3 separate regions of the Homo sapiens genome follow, and regions 1 and 2 are each linked to region 3. Evidence: promoter capture Hi-C in human tissues and cell types (Jung and others, 2019). All regions are on one chromosome and are shown on one strand. Each heading gives the region's core, a stretch centred on a gene start or on the middle of the fragment in contact. The rest is flanking DNA. Distances are from core to core; before and after follow the strand shown. Region 1 overlaps ASNS (asparagine synthetase (glutamine-hydrolyzing)). Region 2 overlaps LMTK2 (lemur tyrosine kinase 2). Region 3 holds the start of OCM2 (oncomodulin 2).

Evidence for each region. Contacts are between HindIII fragments. The study calls those that stand out against the background at their distance.
Region 1: a fragment that was not itself captured here is called in contact with the fragment with the promoter of OCM2 in region 3 in 1 of the 25 tissues and cell types used here (thymus).
Region 2: a contact is called between a fragment that was not itself captured here and the fragment with the promoter of OCM2 in region 3, in 1 of the 25 tissues and cell types used here (adrenal gland).

Annotation. Positions count from the first base shown.
Region 1 is chr7:97,858,809-97,862,492 of GRCh38, reverse strand. ASNS (asparagine synthetase (glutamine-hydrolyzing)) reads left to right here. Exons shown (of 13, transcript NM_001673.5): 5 at 3,095-3,280; 6 at 3,538-3,639. CZ1P-ASNS (CZ1P-ASNS readthrough) reads left to right here. Exons shown (of 19, transcript NR_147989.1): 11 at 3,095-3,280; 12 at 3,538-3,639. Among named protein-coding and RNA genes, the nearest start is that of ASNS, 12 kb to the left of the region's middle. The HindIII fragment of the contact is 7,001 bases long and covers 1-3,684 here.
Region 2 is chr7:98,175,726-98,179,001 of GRCh38, reverse strand. The region is part of intron 7 of LMTK2 (lemur tyrosine kinase 2); the gene reads right to left. Among named protein-coding and RNA genes, the nearest start is that of BHLHA15, 34 kb to the left of the region's middle. The HindIII fragment of the contact is 5,724 bases long and covers 1-3,276 here.
Region 3 is chr7:97,988,946-97,992,656 of GRCh38, reverse strand. OCM2 (oncomodulin 2) reads left to right here and starts at 2,461. Exons shown (of 4, transcript NM_006188.4): 1 at 2,461-2,613. The coding sequence starts at 2,553. The HindIII fragment of the contact is 22,202 bases long and covers 1-3,711 here.

The DNA of each region.
Region 1 (3,684 bases), core at 965-3,464, 130 kb after region 3:
CCTGTGCTCCACTTATTCTTTCCTCCCGTCCTCTTCCTCCTAACCCCCCAGTCATTACTGATCTTTTTGCTTTCTCTCTCACTTTGCCTTTCCCAGAATGTCGTATAATAGTTGTAATCATATAGTATGTAGCTTTTTCAGACTGGCTTCTTTCACCTAGCAGTATACATTTATAGTTCTTCTGTGTTTTTTCATGGCTTGATAGCTCATTTATTATTATTATTATTATACTTTAAGTTCTAGGGTACATGTGCATAACGTGCAGGTTTGTTACATATGTATACATGTGCCATGTTGGTGTGCTTGCTGAATAATATTCCATTTGTTTGCATGCAATGCAATTTGTTTATCCATTCTTGAATTACCCATTTCTAATTGAGTTATTTTGTCTTTTTATTACTGAATTGTAATAGTTCCTTATGTATTCTAGATACAAATCCCTTCTGTTCATCAGGGTTGCAGGATACAAGATGAATATACAAAAATCAATGGTATTTGACACACTTTAACTGAATACTACATACTTAAAATGAGCAATCAAAATGAAATTAAGAAAGCAACTTCATTTATAATAGCATCAAAAAGAATAAAATACTTAGAAATAAATTTAAGAAGTGTAAAACTTGTACTCTGAAAACTATAAAATGTTGTTGAAAGAAATGAGAGGAGATCTAAATAAATGGAAAAGTATCCCATGATCATGATTTGAAGGCTTAACATTGTTAAGATGGCAGTCCTCCCTAAACTGATTTACAGATTTAACTTGATCCCTATCAGAATCCCAGATGAGTTCTTTGTGAAATCTACAAGCTGACTCTCAAATTCATATGGAATTGCAAGAGACTAAGAATAGCCAAAACAATCTTTTGAAAATGAAGAACAAAGTAGGAGACCTCATATTAACTGATTTTAAAACTTACTACAAGACAATGGTAATAAGGACAATATAATACTGACAGAAGGATAGATGTATAGACTAGTGGGATAGAATTGAGAGTCAGAAATGAACCCATACATATATGATCAACTTATTTTTGACAAGGGTGCCAAGATTATTCAGTGGAGAAAGAAGTTTGAAAACTGGCACAGGGGCAACCAGATATGTAACCATATGCAAAACTTGGAGTTGAATCTTTACCCAACATCGTATACAAAAATTATGGATACAGAAAAATGGATCAGGCCAGGCGCGATGGCTTATGCCTGTAATCCCAGCACTTTGGGAGGCCGAGGCGGGTGGATCACGAGGTCAGGAGATCGAGACCATCCTGGCTAACACAGTGAAACCCCGTCTCTACTAAAAATTAGCCGGGCGTGGTGGCGGGCGCCTGTAGTCCCAGCTACTCAGGAGGCTGAGGCAGGAGAATGGCGTGAACCCGGGAGACGGAGCTTGCGGTAAGCCGAGATCGCGCAACTGCACTCCAGCCTGAGTGACAGAGCGAGACTCATCTCAAAAAAAAAAAAAAAAAGGATCAAATGAATCAGTTTTGAACTAATCCACTTAAATGTAAGGGCTAAAACTATAAAATCCCGAGAAGCAAACATAGAAGTAAATTGTCATGACCCTGGATTTGGCAAAGCTTTCTTAAATATGAGACCAGCAACAATAATAAAAATCAATGAATTGGACTTCATCAAAATTAAACATTTTTGCACATCAAAGGACACCATCAAGAAAGTGAAAAGACGGCCCACAAGTTGGAAGAAAATACTTGCAAATCATGCATAGCACTTTTTGATGGTAAACTTGAGGAAGACATTTATCTTTTATCCCTTACCTGTGCAGCAGTAACATCCTAATATCTCTCTCCCTGCCTCTTTTTGCCATTCTTTAAATTCTTTCTCACTTAATTTTCAGATTTAATATTGGCTGAAGCAGGGATAATGAGATCAATCAAAGGGGTCCTTAGGACACTAGTCACAGTGTTTGTACTAATACTGGAACTGGCTTATTTTCAGGCATTTCTAGTGTGATCAGATGGCAAAGAACAAGCATATATATATGTCAGTTGCCAGGACTGCTGGGAAAGCCTGGTAAAGAGAACACTGGGGAAAAGCAGCCTCCTGCTCCCCTGGGCCTTCTTTGAGCCTGATGATCACTTGATATGGAACTTACCCTCTGAAATTCCTTAATTGTTCTTTTCTATATCCTTGACACTGTCCTTTTCCAGACCAAATTATCTCATCTGGAATACTGCAACAATTTTCTTTTCTCAGTGCTTTTAGAATAACCTGTCAAAATCTCATCTGATTATAGTATTGCCTGCTTAAAACCTTTTAATTACTCCCCATTCCCTATCCGGGTTGTGTAGCTCACTTGAGCTCTGCTGGCTGGTGAGGGAATCTGGGTCCTTTTTCTGGTATTTGAATTCAGTGCTACACAGGTTACTGGCTGGGTAGACAATCTCAAATTGTAAATCACGAGTATTCCATGTAGATAGTCCATTACGATCTACAATAAAACATTGATGTTTGTATCAAAGATCATGGTGATGAGAGGTTGGGTACTGTACTGTCTGTGAGAATTTATTGAGGAAATTTAAGTTATATGGTTTTATTCACATATAGTGTATAACAACTAGTTAAGGGATAGATGTCTTCTTATCTGACTTTAAAGTAGGTAAAAGTGGATCATTGTACTTGTTAAAGGTCTGGGAACCATGGCTGTGTTCTGAAAATACCTCAGTGATGACAAATAAATGACTCCCAGCCTATCATAACATTAGGACTCCAGTTCATCCCTTTGCTTCATAAGTGTGTCTTTTCCTTTTGTGTATTTGCTTTAGTATAGAAAATAGGTTTTCTTGATTAGAAATCTAAGAAGAAGAAATTGAACACTGGAGATTTTTCTATTTCTTTGAATTACGAAAAGTTAGTGTAATTTGGCAGTATATCCCTGTGCCATTATTGTCTCTCAGGTAAGTAGATGGTAGGGCTTAGGAAAATAGAAAATTTTTTTTCCTATTTTGCTTATTTAATGGGTATGTGTTTGTATTAAAAAGGGAAAATAGGAATGTAGATGATGTTAACTAATCGTGAAAGTTATTGGGAAGGGTTACCTAATTTGAATAAAGGTATCATTGTGAATTTCTAGGTCTTGTTACATTGAAGCACTCCGCGACTCCCTTTTTAAAAGTGGAGCCTTTTCTTCCTGGACACTATGAAGTTTTGGATTTAAAGCCAAATGGCAAAGTTGCATCCGTGGAAATGGTTAAATATCATCACTGTCGGGATGTACCCCTGCACGCCCTCTATGACAATGTGGAGAAACTCTTTCCAGGTAGCAGACACCCACCCACCTATTCCCCATCCTTCTCCAAGGGAAAAAAATTTTAAGTTGTATTCTCCCATCATTTGAATGATTTTAGTTTCAAGACCTACTTCCTATTTTGTTTGGAGGGAACACATTAAGATTTGGCACACTCCACCATTGAGTAAATACCATCATGATAGATGTTGATGATTGTGTATTTCATTTCAATAACTAATCCAGCCCAAGATTTTCTGGAGCTGTTTGATTTACTGCTGTGTTTATAGGTTTTGAGATAGAAACTGTGAAGAACAACCTCAGGATCCTTTTTAATAATGCTGTAAAGAAACGTTTGATGACAGACAGAAGGATTGGCTGCCTTTTATCAGGTGAAGTCAATTAAAAAAACCTAATTATATTTCATGTGTGTTTAA
Region 2 (3,276 bases), core at 208-2,707, 190 kb before region 3:
CCCAGGCTCCACAATGCAGTGGGAGGGAGCCCTGGGCAGTCAGGAGGCCAGGAGCTCATCTCAGTTCCACTGCTGCAAGACCATGTGATGCTGGGCTGGTCACATGCATAGCAGAGGAGCCTCAGTTTCCTCACGAAACAACAGGTTGCACTTGAAATGGTTAACTCACAAGGCTGTTGCAAGGGTAACACTGAAAAATACATGAAATGTTTTGAAAACATAAAAGTGCTGTACAGATTCAAAGTAATGATACAATTTGGGCCAAAGTTGGTAAAAATAAATATTATCTGAAGCCCAATAACGTGCAAAGCTAAAGAAAAACACACAGGTGTCACTTCTTAACAACAGAGGGAACTCTTGACGTCAATGGCTGCTTTTGTCAGGAAATGCAAACACACAGCCAGTCTGCTCTCCCTTCAAGTTGAAAAACAGGTCCAGGGATGAGGCTACCAGTGGCACCAGCCCCGCCCGGCTCTCAGAAGGCTCTGGCAGCGTCGCCTGAGCTTGGCAGCACTTGCTGTGACTGAGACCACAGTAACCATGAGACTCAGGGCCGCATGAGCAGAGCGATCGACAGAAAGTGGGAGCTCGCGGTTCTGAAGGGTTCCCACCCCGATTCACAAGGAAGTACCACTGCTTGCTGCTCACTCACGCTAGGACTAGTTTGCGCGTCTTCGGGGTTCTCCAATGCAAACTCAACACGCAGGAGGCATTTTCAAAATAATCCACACCTCTATTATGTGAACTACTTATGCTTTCCCGAGTAATCTGGATTCCTGATAAGAAGAGTTCACAGACAGGAAGCAAAATACCGGAAAGTTACTGAATATTCTTCTAGCAGCTTGGCATACTTTATCTCCATCTTGACAACAGCACTCCAGGGCTTTAAAGACGATCCCCATTTTATAGAAGAGATAGAGCTCCGAAGGATGAAATAACCAGGCTTATACTGGTAAAGCTGATGAGAGGTGAATGAAAACTTCAATTCCAAAGCCTCCCTCTGCTCGTCACGTCATTCTGACTCTGGCAGCCACAAAGACTTAAGCTTCCGAAGGGACTCTGCACTTAACACTCTAAGATGGGATGGAGACGTACCAGGAGAGGATTAAAACAAGAGGATTCCGATAAAGCACACAGAGGCAACTTTATACTAGAGTTTTGACAGTGTTTGCCCTGCTTATTAGGTCAGTCTTTGCTAGCTGGGCAATGGTACATTTACTGAGTGCCTGCTGTGTGTATCTCAGGCACCTGCTAGGATTTGGGTACACAGAGTTCTTCCACAGGGTGTGAAATTCTTATTACACCCTAGGGAAAACGCCTCTGGCTGGAATAGGGTCCACCACTGATGGTGCATATGTATAGTCCCAGCTACCTGCGAGGCTGAGACAAGAGGATTGCTTGAGCCTGGGAAGTCAAGGCCAAGCAAGTGAGCCATGATCGTGCCACTGCACTCACTCAAGCCTGGGTGACAGAGCGAGACCCTGTCTCAAAAAAATAAAAAATAAATAAAAACCCTGTTCAGATTCGAATGGGAATTCTTTGAGTGAACTGGCATTTTTGTGTGGCCTCCCCACCATAAATCATGGTGCATCTTTCCATGTGTCCACATGTTATTTTACATTCTTCAATAAGATTTCATAGTTTTCTTCATACAGTCCTGTGTCTTTCTCACATAATATATACCCAGATAATTTATAATTTTGGCATTATTCAGAATAAAATGGTTTTTATCCACCTTCACTACTGGGTACATAATTACACCTGTACAGAGAAAAACTACTGACTTATGTATACTGTCTTATAAAAAGCCACAACAAATTCTTTTATGAATTCTAATTTTTTAAAAGCACAGTTTCTTGGTTTTTCTAAACATCCAACACCATGGCACCAGTAAAGAAGGGCAATGTTCTCTTCTTTTCCAATGATTGTGTGGTGTAGCTCGGTGGTTAACAGTGTGAAATCTGGAGGCAGACGGTGTAGCTTTGAATCCCAGCTCTGCTGGCTTCCAGTTGCACGACCCTGAACAAGTCAGTATACCTGTCTGTGCCTGCGTCTCCTGACCTGTAACACAGACGGGAAAACCAGCACTACCACTTAAGAGTTGGTGTAAAGTAGCTGGCATGTGGGAAGCATTCAGTAAATCATTATTATTATTGAGATGGAGTCTCGCTCTGTCATGCAGGCTGGAGTGCAGTGGTGCGATCTCAGCTCACTGCAACCTCTGCCTCCCGGGTTCAAGCGATTCTCCTGCCTCAGCCTCCCAAGTAGCTGGGATTACAGGCATGTGCCACCACGCCTGGCTAATTTTTTTGTATTTTTAGTAGAGATGGGATTTCACCATGTTGGCCAGGCTGGTCTCAAACTCCTGACCTCAAGTGATCTGCCCACCTCGGCCTCCCAAAGTGCTGAGATTACAGGTGTGAGCCACTGTGCCTGGCCTATTATTATTTTTTTCTTTTTTCCCCCTTATTTCTTGGGCCTATTATTTTTAAACTGATAATTTTATAGTTTGTGTTTGTATTAGCTAGTACCTCCAAAGAAATGTTGGAAGGTAACAGAAATAGTGGGCATCTCTGCCTGGTTTCTCATTTAATTGAAAGGACTTTATTATTTTGCCATTTAGCAATAGCATGATATTGCTATTAAGTTTTGGTAAAGTTTTGAGTCTTAGTCCATATGATATTTAAGTTGTATCTTTCCTTTCCTGTCGGAAGAAATGTTTCCCATCAGAGGAGAATATGTTTACATAGTCTATGTAAACACAGAATAGCTGCTGAATTATACTAAATGATGTTTCTGCAATCTATTGCTATAATGTATTTCTCCTCTTTTATTCTGTCAATGGAATGAATTATGTAGACATATTTTTATAATACACATCTACCCTTATAGTCCTAGAATAAGTCTTAATTGTTTTATTCACACACTGCTACATGCAGTTTGCTAGTATTTGTGTCTATGTTCATTCAGGAGAATCGTCAATAATTTCTTTATGTCATCTTTTGCTATTAAGCTTGTGTTGGATTCATGATATGAGTTATAGAAATTTCCGTCTTCTTTATGGTCCGGAATAGTTTAAATACACTGGAGCCACCTGTTCATTAAAGGTCAGACAGAGGACACCCATGAAACCCTCTGGACCTCGAGCCTTTTAAAATGAAAGCTCTTTAATCACCTTCCCAGTGTAGCTACTCGGCTGATTACAGTCTTTCCATCTCTTCTTGGGTTGTAGCTGCAGTCAAACTGGTTCCTTTCCCTTGAAGCCTTCCTCATTTC
Region 3 (3,711 bases), core at 1,212-3,711:
TGGAGTCTCGTTCTGTCACCCAGGTTATAGTGTAGTGGCGCAATCTCAGCTCACTGCAACCTCTGCCTCCCAGATTCAAGTGATTCTCCTGCCACAGCCTCCCAAGTAGCTGGGATTACAGGCTACCATGCCCAGCTAATTTTTGCATTTTTAGTAGAGATGGGGTTTCACCATGTTGGTCAGGCTGGTCTCGAACTCCTGACCTTGTGATTTGCCTGCCTCGGCCTCCCAAAGTGCTGGGATTACAGGCATGAGCCACTGTGCCCGGCCAGTAGTCAAACTCTTAGAAGCAGAAAGTACAATGATGCTTACCAGGAGCTGGGAGGTGGGGGAACAGGGGAGTTGTGGCAGCTCAATGGATACAGAGTTTCTGTTTTTCCAGCTGAATAAATTACAGAGATCTCTCATTCAATAATGCACCAAGAGTTAACAATATTGTACTATACATACACTTAAAAATGGTTGAGATTATATATTTTATGGAATGTGGTTTTTACCCAATAATTAAAAAGAAGAGTCTAGCACAGTGCTGGCCATATAAAGCCTCAATAAATGTTTGCTGAAAATTAAAAAAAAAAAAAAGGCCAGGAGTGGTGGTTCACACATGTAATCCCAGCACTTTGGGAGGCTGAGGTGGGAGAATTACTCGAGCCCAGGAGTTCAAGACCAGCCTAGGCAACATGGCAAAACCCTGTCTCTCCAAAAAATATGTATATTAAAAAAATTAGCCAGGCATGGTGGTGTGTGCCTGTAGTACCAGCTACTCGGGAGACTGAGGTGGGAGGATCGCTTGAGCCTGGAGGTCAAGGCTGCAATGAGCTGAGATTGTACCACTGCACTCCAGTCGGGGCAACAGAGCAAGACCCTGTCACAACAGAAACAAAATCTTGAGGTGTCTAGTCCTGGCCTCAGCCTCAGAGTATTTGTTTCTGAACTTGTTAGTTTTGGGGGTTGGGGATGCTGGTTTGATTTCCTCCTTTTTGCCTTTTGAGTGTGTGCAATTTATGGTATAGCTGGGAAACGTAAAAGTCAAGAGTTTTGTAGGAAAATCACGTCACTTAGCCCTGTCTCCTGTGCCGGACGAGTCCTGTGTGTGCACTTGGTGACAATGGCTTTGAGTCTTCAACTCCAGATTGAGGTCAGCCTTACACATCCATAGTTCCCAAAGCTGAAAACAGGCCTGCCTCCAACGGTACCTGCTAACATCTGGGGAGCTTTTCAGCTTACAGAGCACCCTGTATGTGTTTGTCTTAGTTCAGGCCACCATCTCCAGCTTACCAGGCTCTAGAACCTTCTCCACACTTTGCCAACAGGGTTCGTTTGCAGAATTGAAACCTTAGTTAAGGTTTGTTGAGGTTGTTGTTGTTGTTGTTGTTTTTACAATTGGCTATTCCCACCCACATTCCCTTGAGACATAAATAGAAAAAAAAAAGAGGTTTCCTGAGTAGGACAAGACATTTGAGCTGCATCCACTTGATCCTTGAAAAGGAAATCTAAGAGGTTGTAACTATCACTTTTTCTAGCCTATATAAGGTAGGTCAGTAAGGTAGCAAAAGCACATCTGTTGTTTTGCTCCTTCAACTCTTTTTCCTGATTCTTCCTGGGGGAAAACCTAAAACGGTGAGTAACTGGTGGACCCATCAGACCCCAGACTCTTCTTCACTGCATGCATTCATATTAGGCTCAGGTGCTTAGACTCCTGTTTTCCCATGGCTCTGACATCTGGAAGGATTTTAATCTCTGGGAGATGGGCTTTTCATCCATCTGCTTCCCACCTTTCAGGACAGGTAGCATGTCTTCTTCCACAGAATGTCTGCAAGCAGCCCAAACTGTATCCTTTCCCACGTGGAATTTGCAACAGTGCATCTCTCGGACTGCTGTAGGAAAATGCCAGTGCATTTGTAACATGGTTTACGGCTGCCTATGCAAATGACTGATTATGTCAGTATAATTTTTATAAGAAAACAATTGAATCCTTCTTTGGGTCATGTTTTTTTTTTTCATTTTTGGCATATATTCAAAAGAAGGCTCTGAGACAAAAAGGGCTGGGGTCTTTTTGGTATCTGGTTTTAATTTGGATATTCTGTCCCGTCACTTAATACAAAACCATGCTTATCACATTTTAAAAATTCTAGACAGGCCTGGCTTGGTGGCTTATGCCTGTAATCCCAGCAGTTTGTGAGGCCAAGGCAGGCAGATCACATGAGGTCAGGAGCTCGAGACCAGGCTGGCAAACATGGCAAAACCCCATCTCTACTAAAAACACAAAAATCAGCCAGGCCTGGTAGTGCGCACCTGTAATCCCAGCTACTCGGAAGGCTGAGGCAGGAGAATCACTTGAGCCCAGGAGGTGGAGGTTGCAGTGAGCCAAGATTGTGCCACTGCACTCCAGCCTGGGTGACAGAGTGAGACTCCATCTCAAAAAAAAAAAAAAAAAAAATCTAGACACACATACAGTTTCAGTGGGCCTGGGAAGATGTGTTTCCCCTGGATGTGCACGTTCCTGTTTGTGGCTTATCGCCTCTCGTTTATTCTGTGTGAGTAGGTAGAAAATGAGCATCACGGACGTGCTCAGTGCTGATGACATTGCAGCAGCGCTCCAGGAATGCCAAGGTAGAGGGGACGTGGGGCGGGGGTGGGATTTCCTCACAGCTTTGCCCCTCCAGCGAGGCAACACAAAATCAAAATGTAGGCCAGGCGGCCAGACGCAGTGGCTCACGCCTGTAATCCTAGCACTTTGGGAGGCTGAGGTGGGTGGATCACGAGGTCAGGAGTTTGAGACCAGCCTGGCCAAGATGGTGAAACCCCATCTCTAATAAAAATACAAAAAAATTAGCCAGGCGTGGTGGTGGGCACCTGTAATCCCAGCTACTCGGGAGGCTGAGGCTGAGAATTGCTTGAACCCGGCCTTTTTTGTAGACTCTGTCTACAAAAAAAAAAAAAATGTAGACCAGGCATGGTGGCTCACATCCGTAATCCCAACACTTTTCGGAGGCCAAGGTGAGAGGACTGTTTGAGCCCAGGAGTTTGAGACCAGCCTGGGCAACATAACAAGACTCCATCTCTACAACATAACAATAAAAATAAAAACTAGCGGGGCATGGTGGCATGTGCCTGTGGTCCCAGCTACTCTGGAAACTAAGGTAGGAGGATCACTCAAGCCCAGGAGGTTGAGGCTGTGGTGAGCTATGATCGCTACACTGCACTCCAGCCTGGACGACAGAGTGAGACTCTGTCTCTAAATAAATAAATAAATAAATAAATAAATAAGTAAATAAGAGCTTGGCTGGAAAATTCATGGAATCAGAGAAGAAAACTACTATTTATTAGATAACTAAAATTATAGAGATCTGGGATCTGAGCACACGATTACACTTCTGTAAGACAAAAGAAACCTACTAAACATGAAAGCAAGAAATCACTGAAGGGCCAGGTGTGGTGCTCACACCTGTAATCCCAGCACTTTGGGAGGCCAAGGCCGGTGCATCACTTGAGGTCAGGAGTTCAAGACCAACCTGGCCAGCCTGACAAAACCCTGTCTCTATTAAAAATACAAAAATGAGCTGGGCATGGGGGTGCATGCCTGTAATCCCAGCTACTCGGGAGGCTGAGGCAGGAGAATCAGTTGAACCTGGGAGGCAGAGGTTGCAGTGAGCCGAGATCACGCCACTGCACTCCAGCCTGGCGACAGAGTGAGACTCTGTCTCAAAA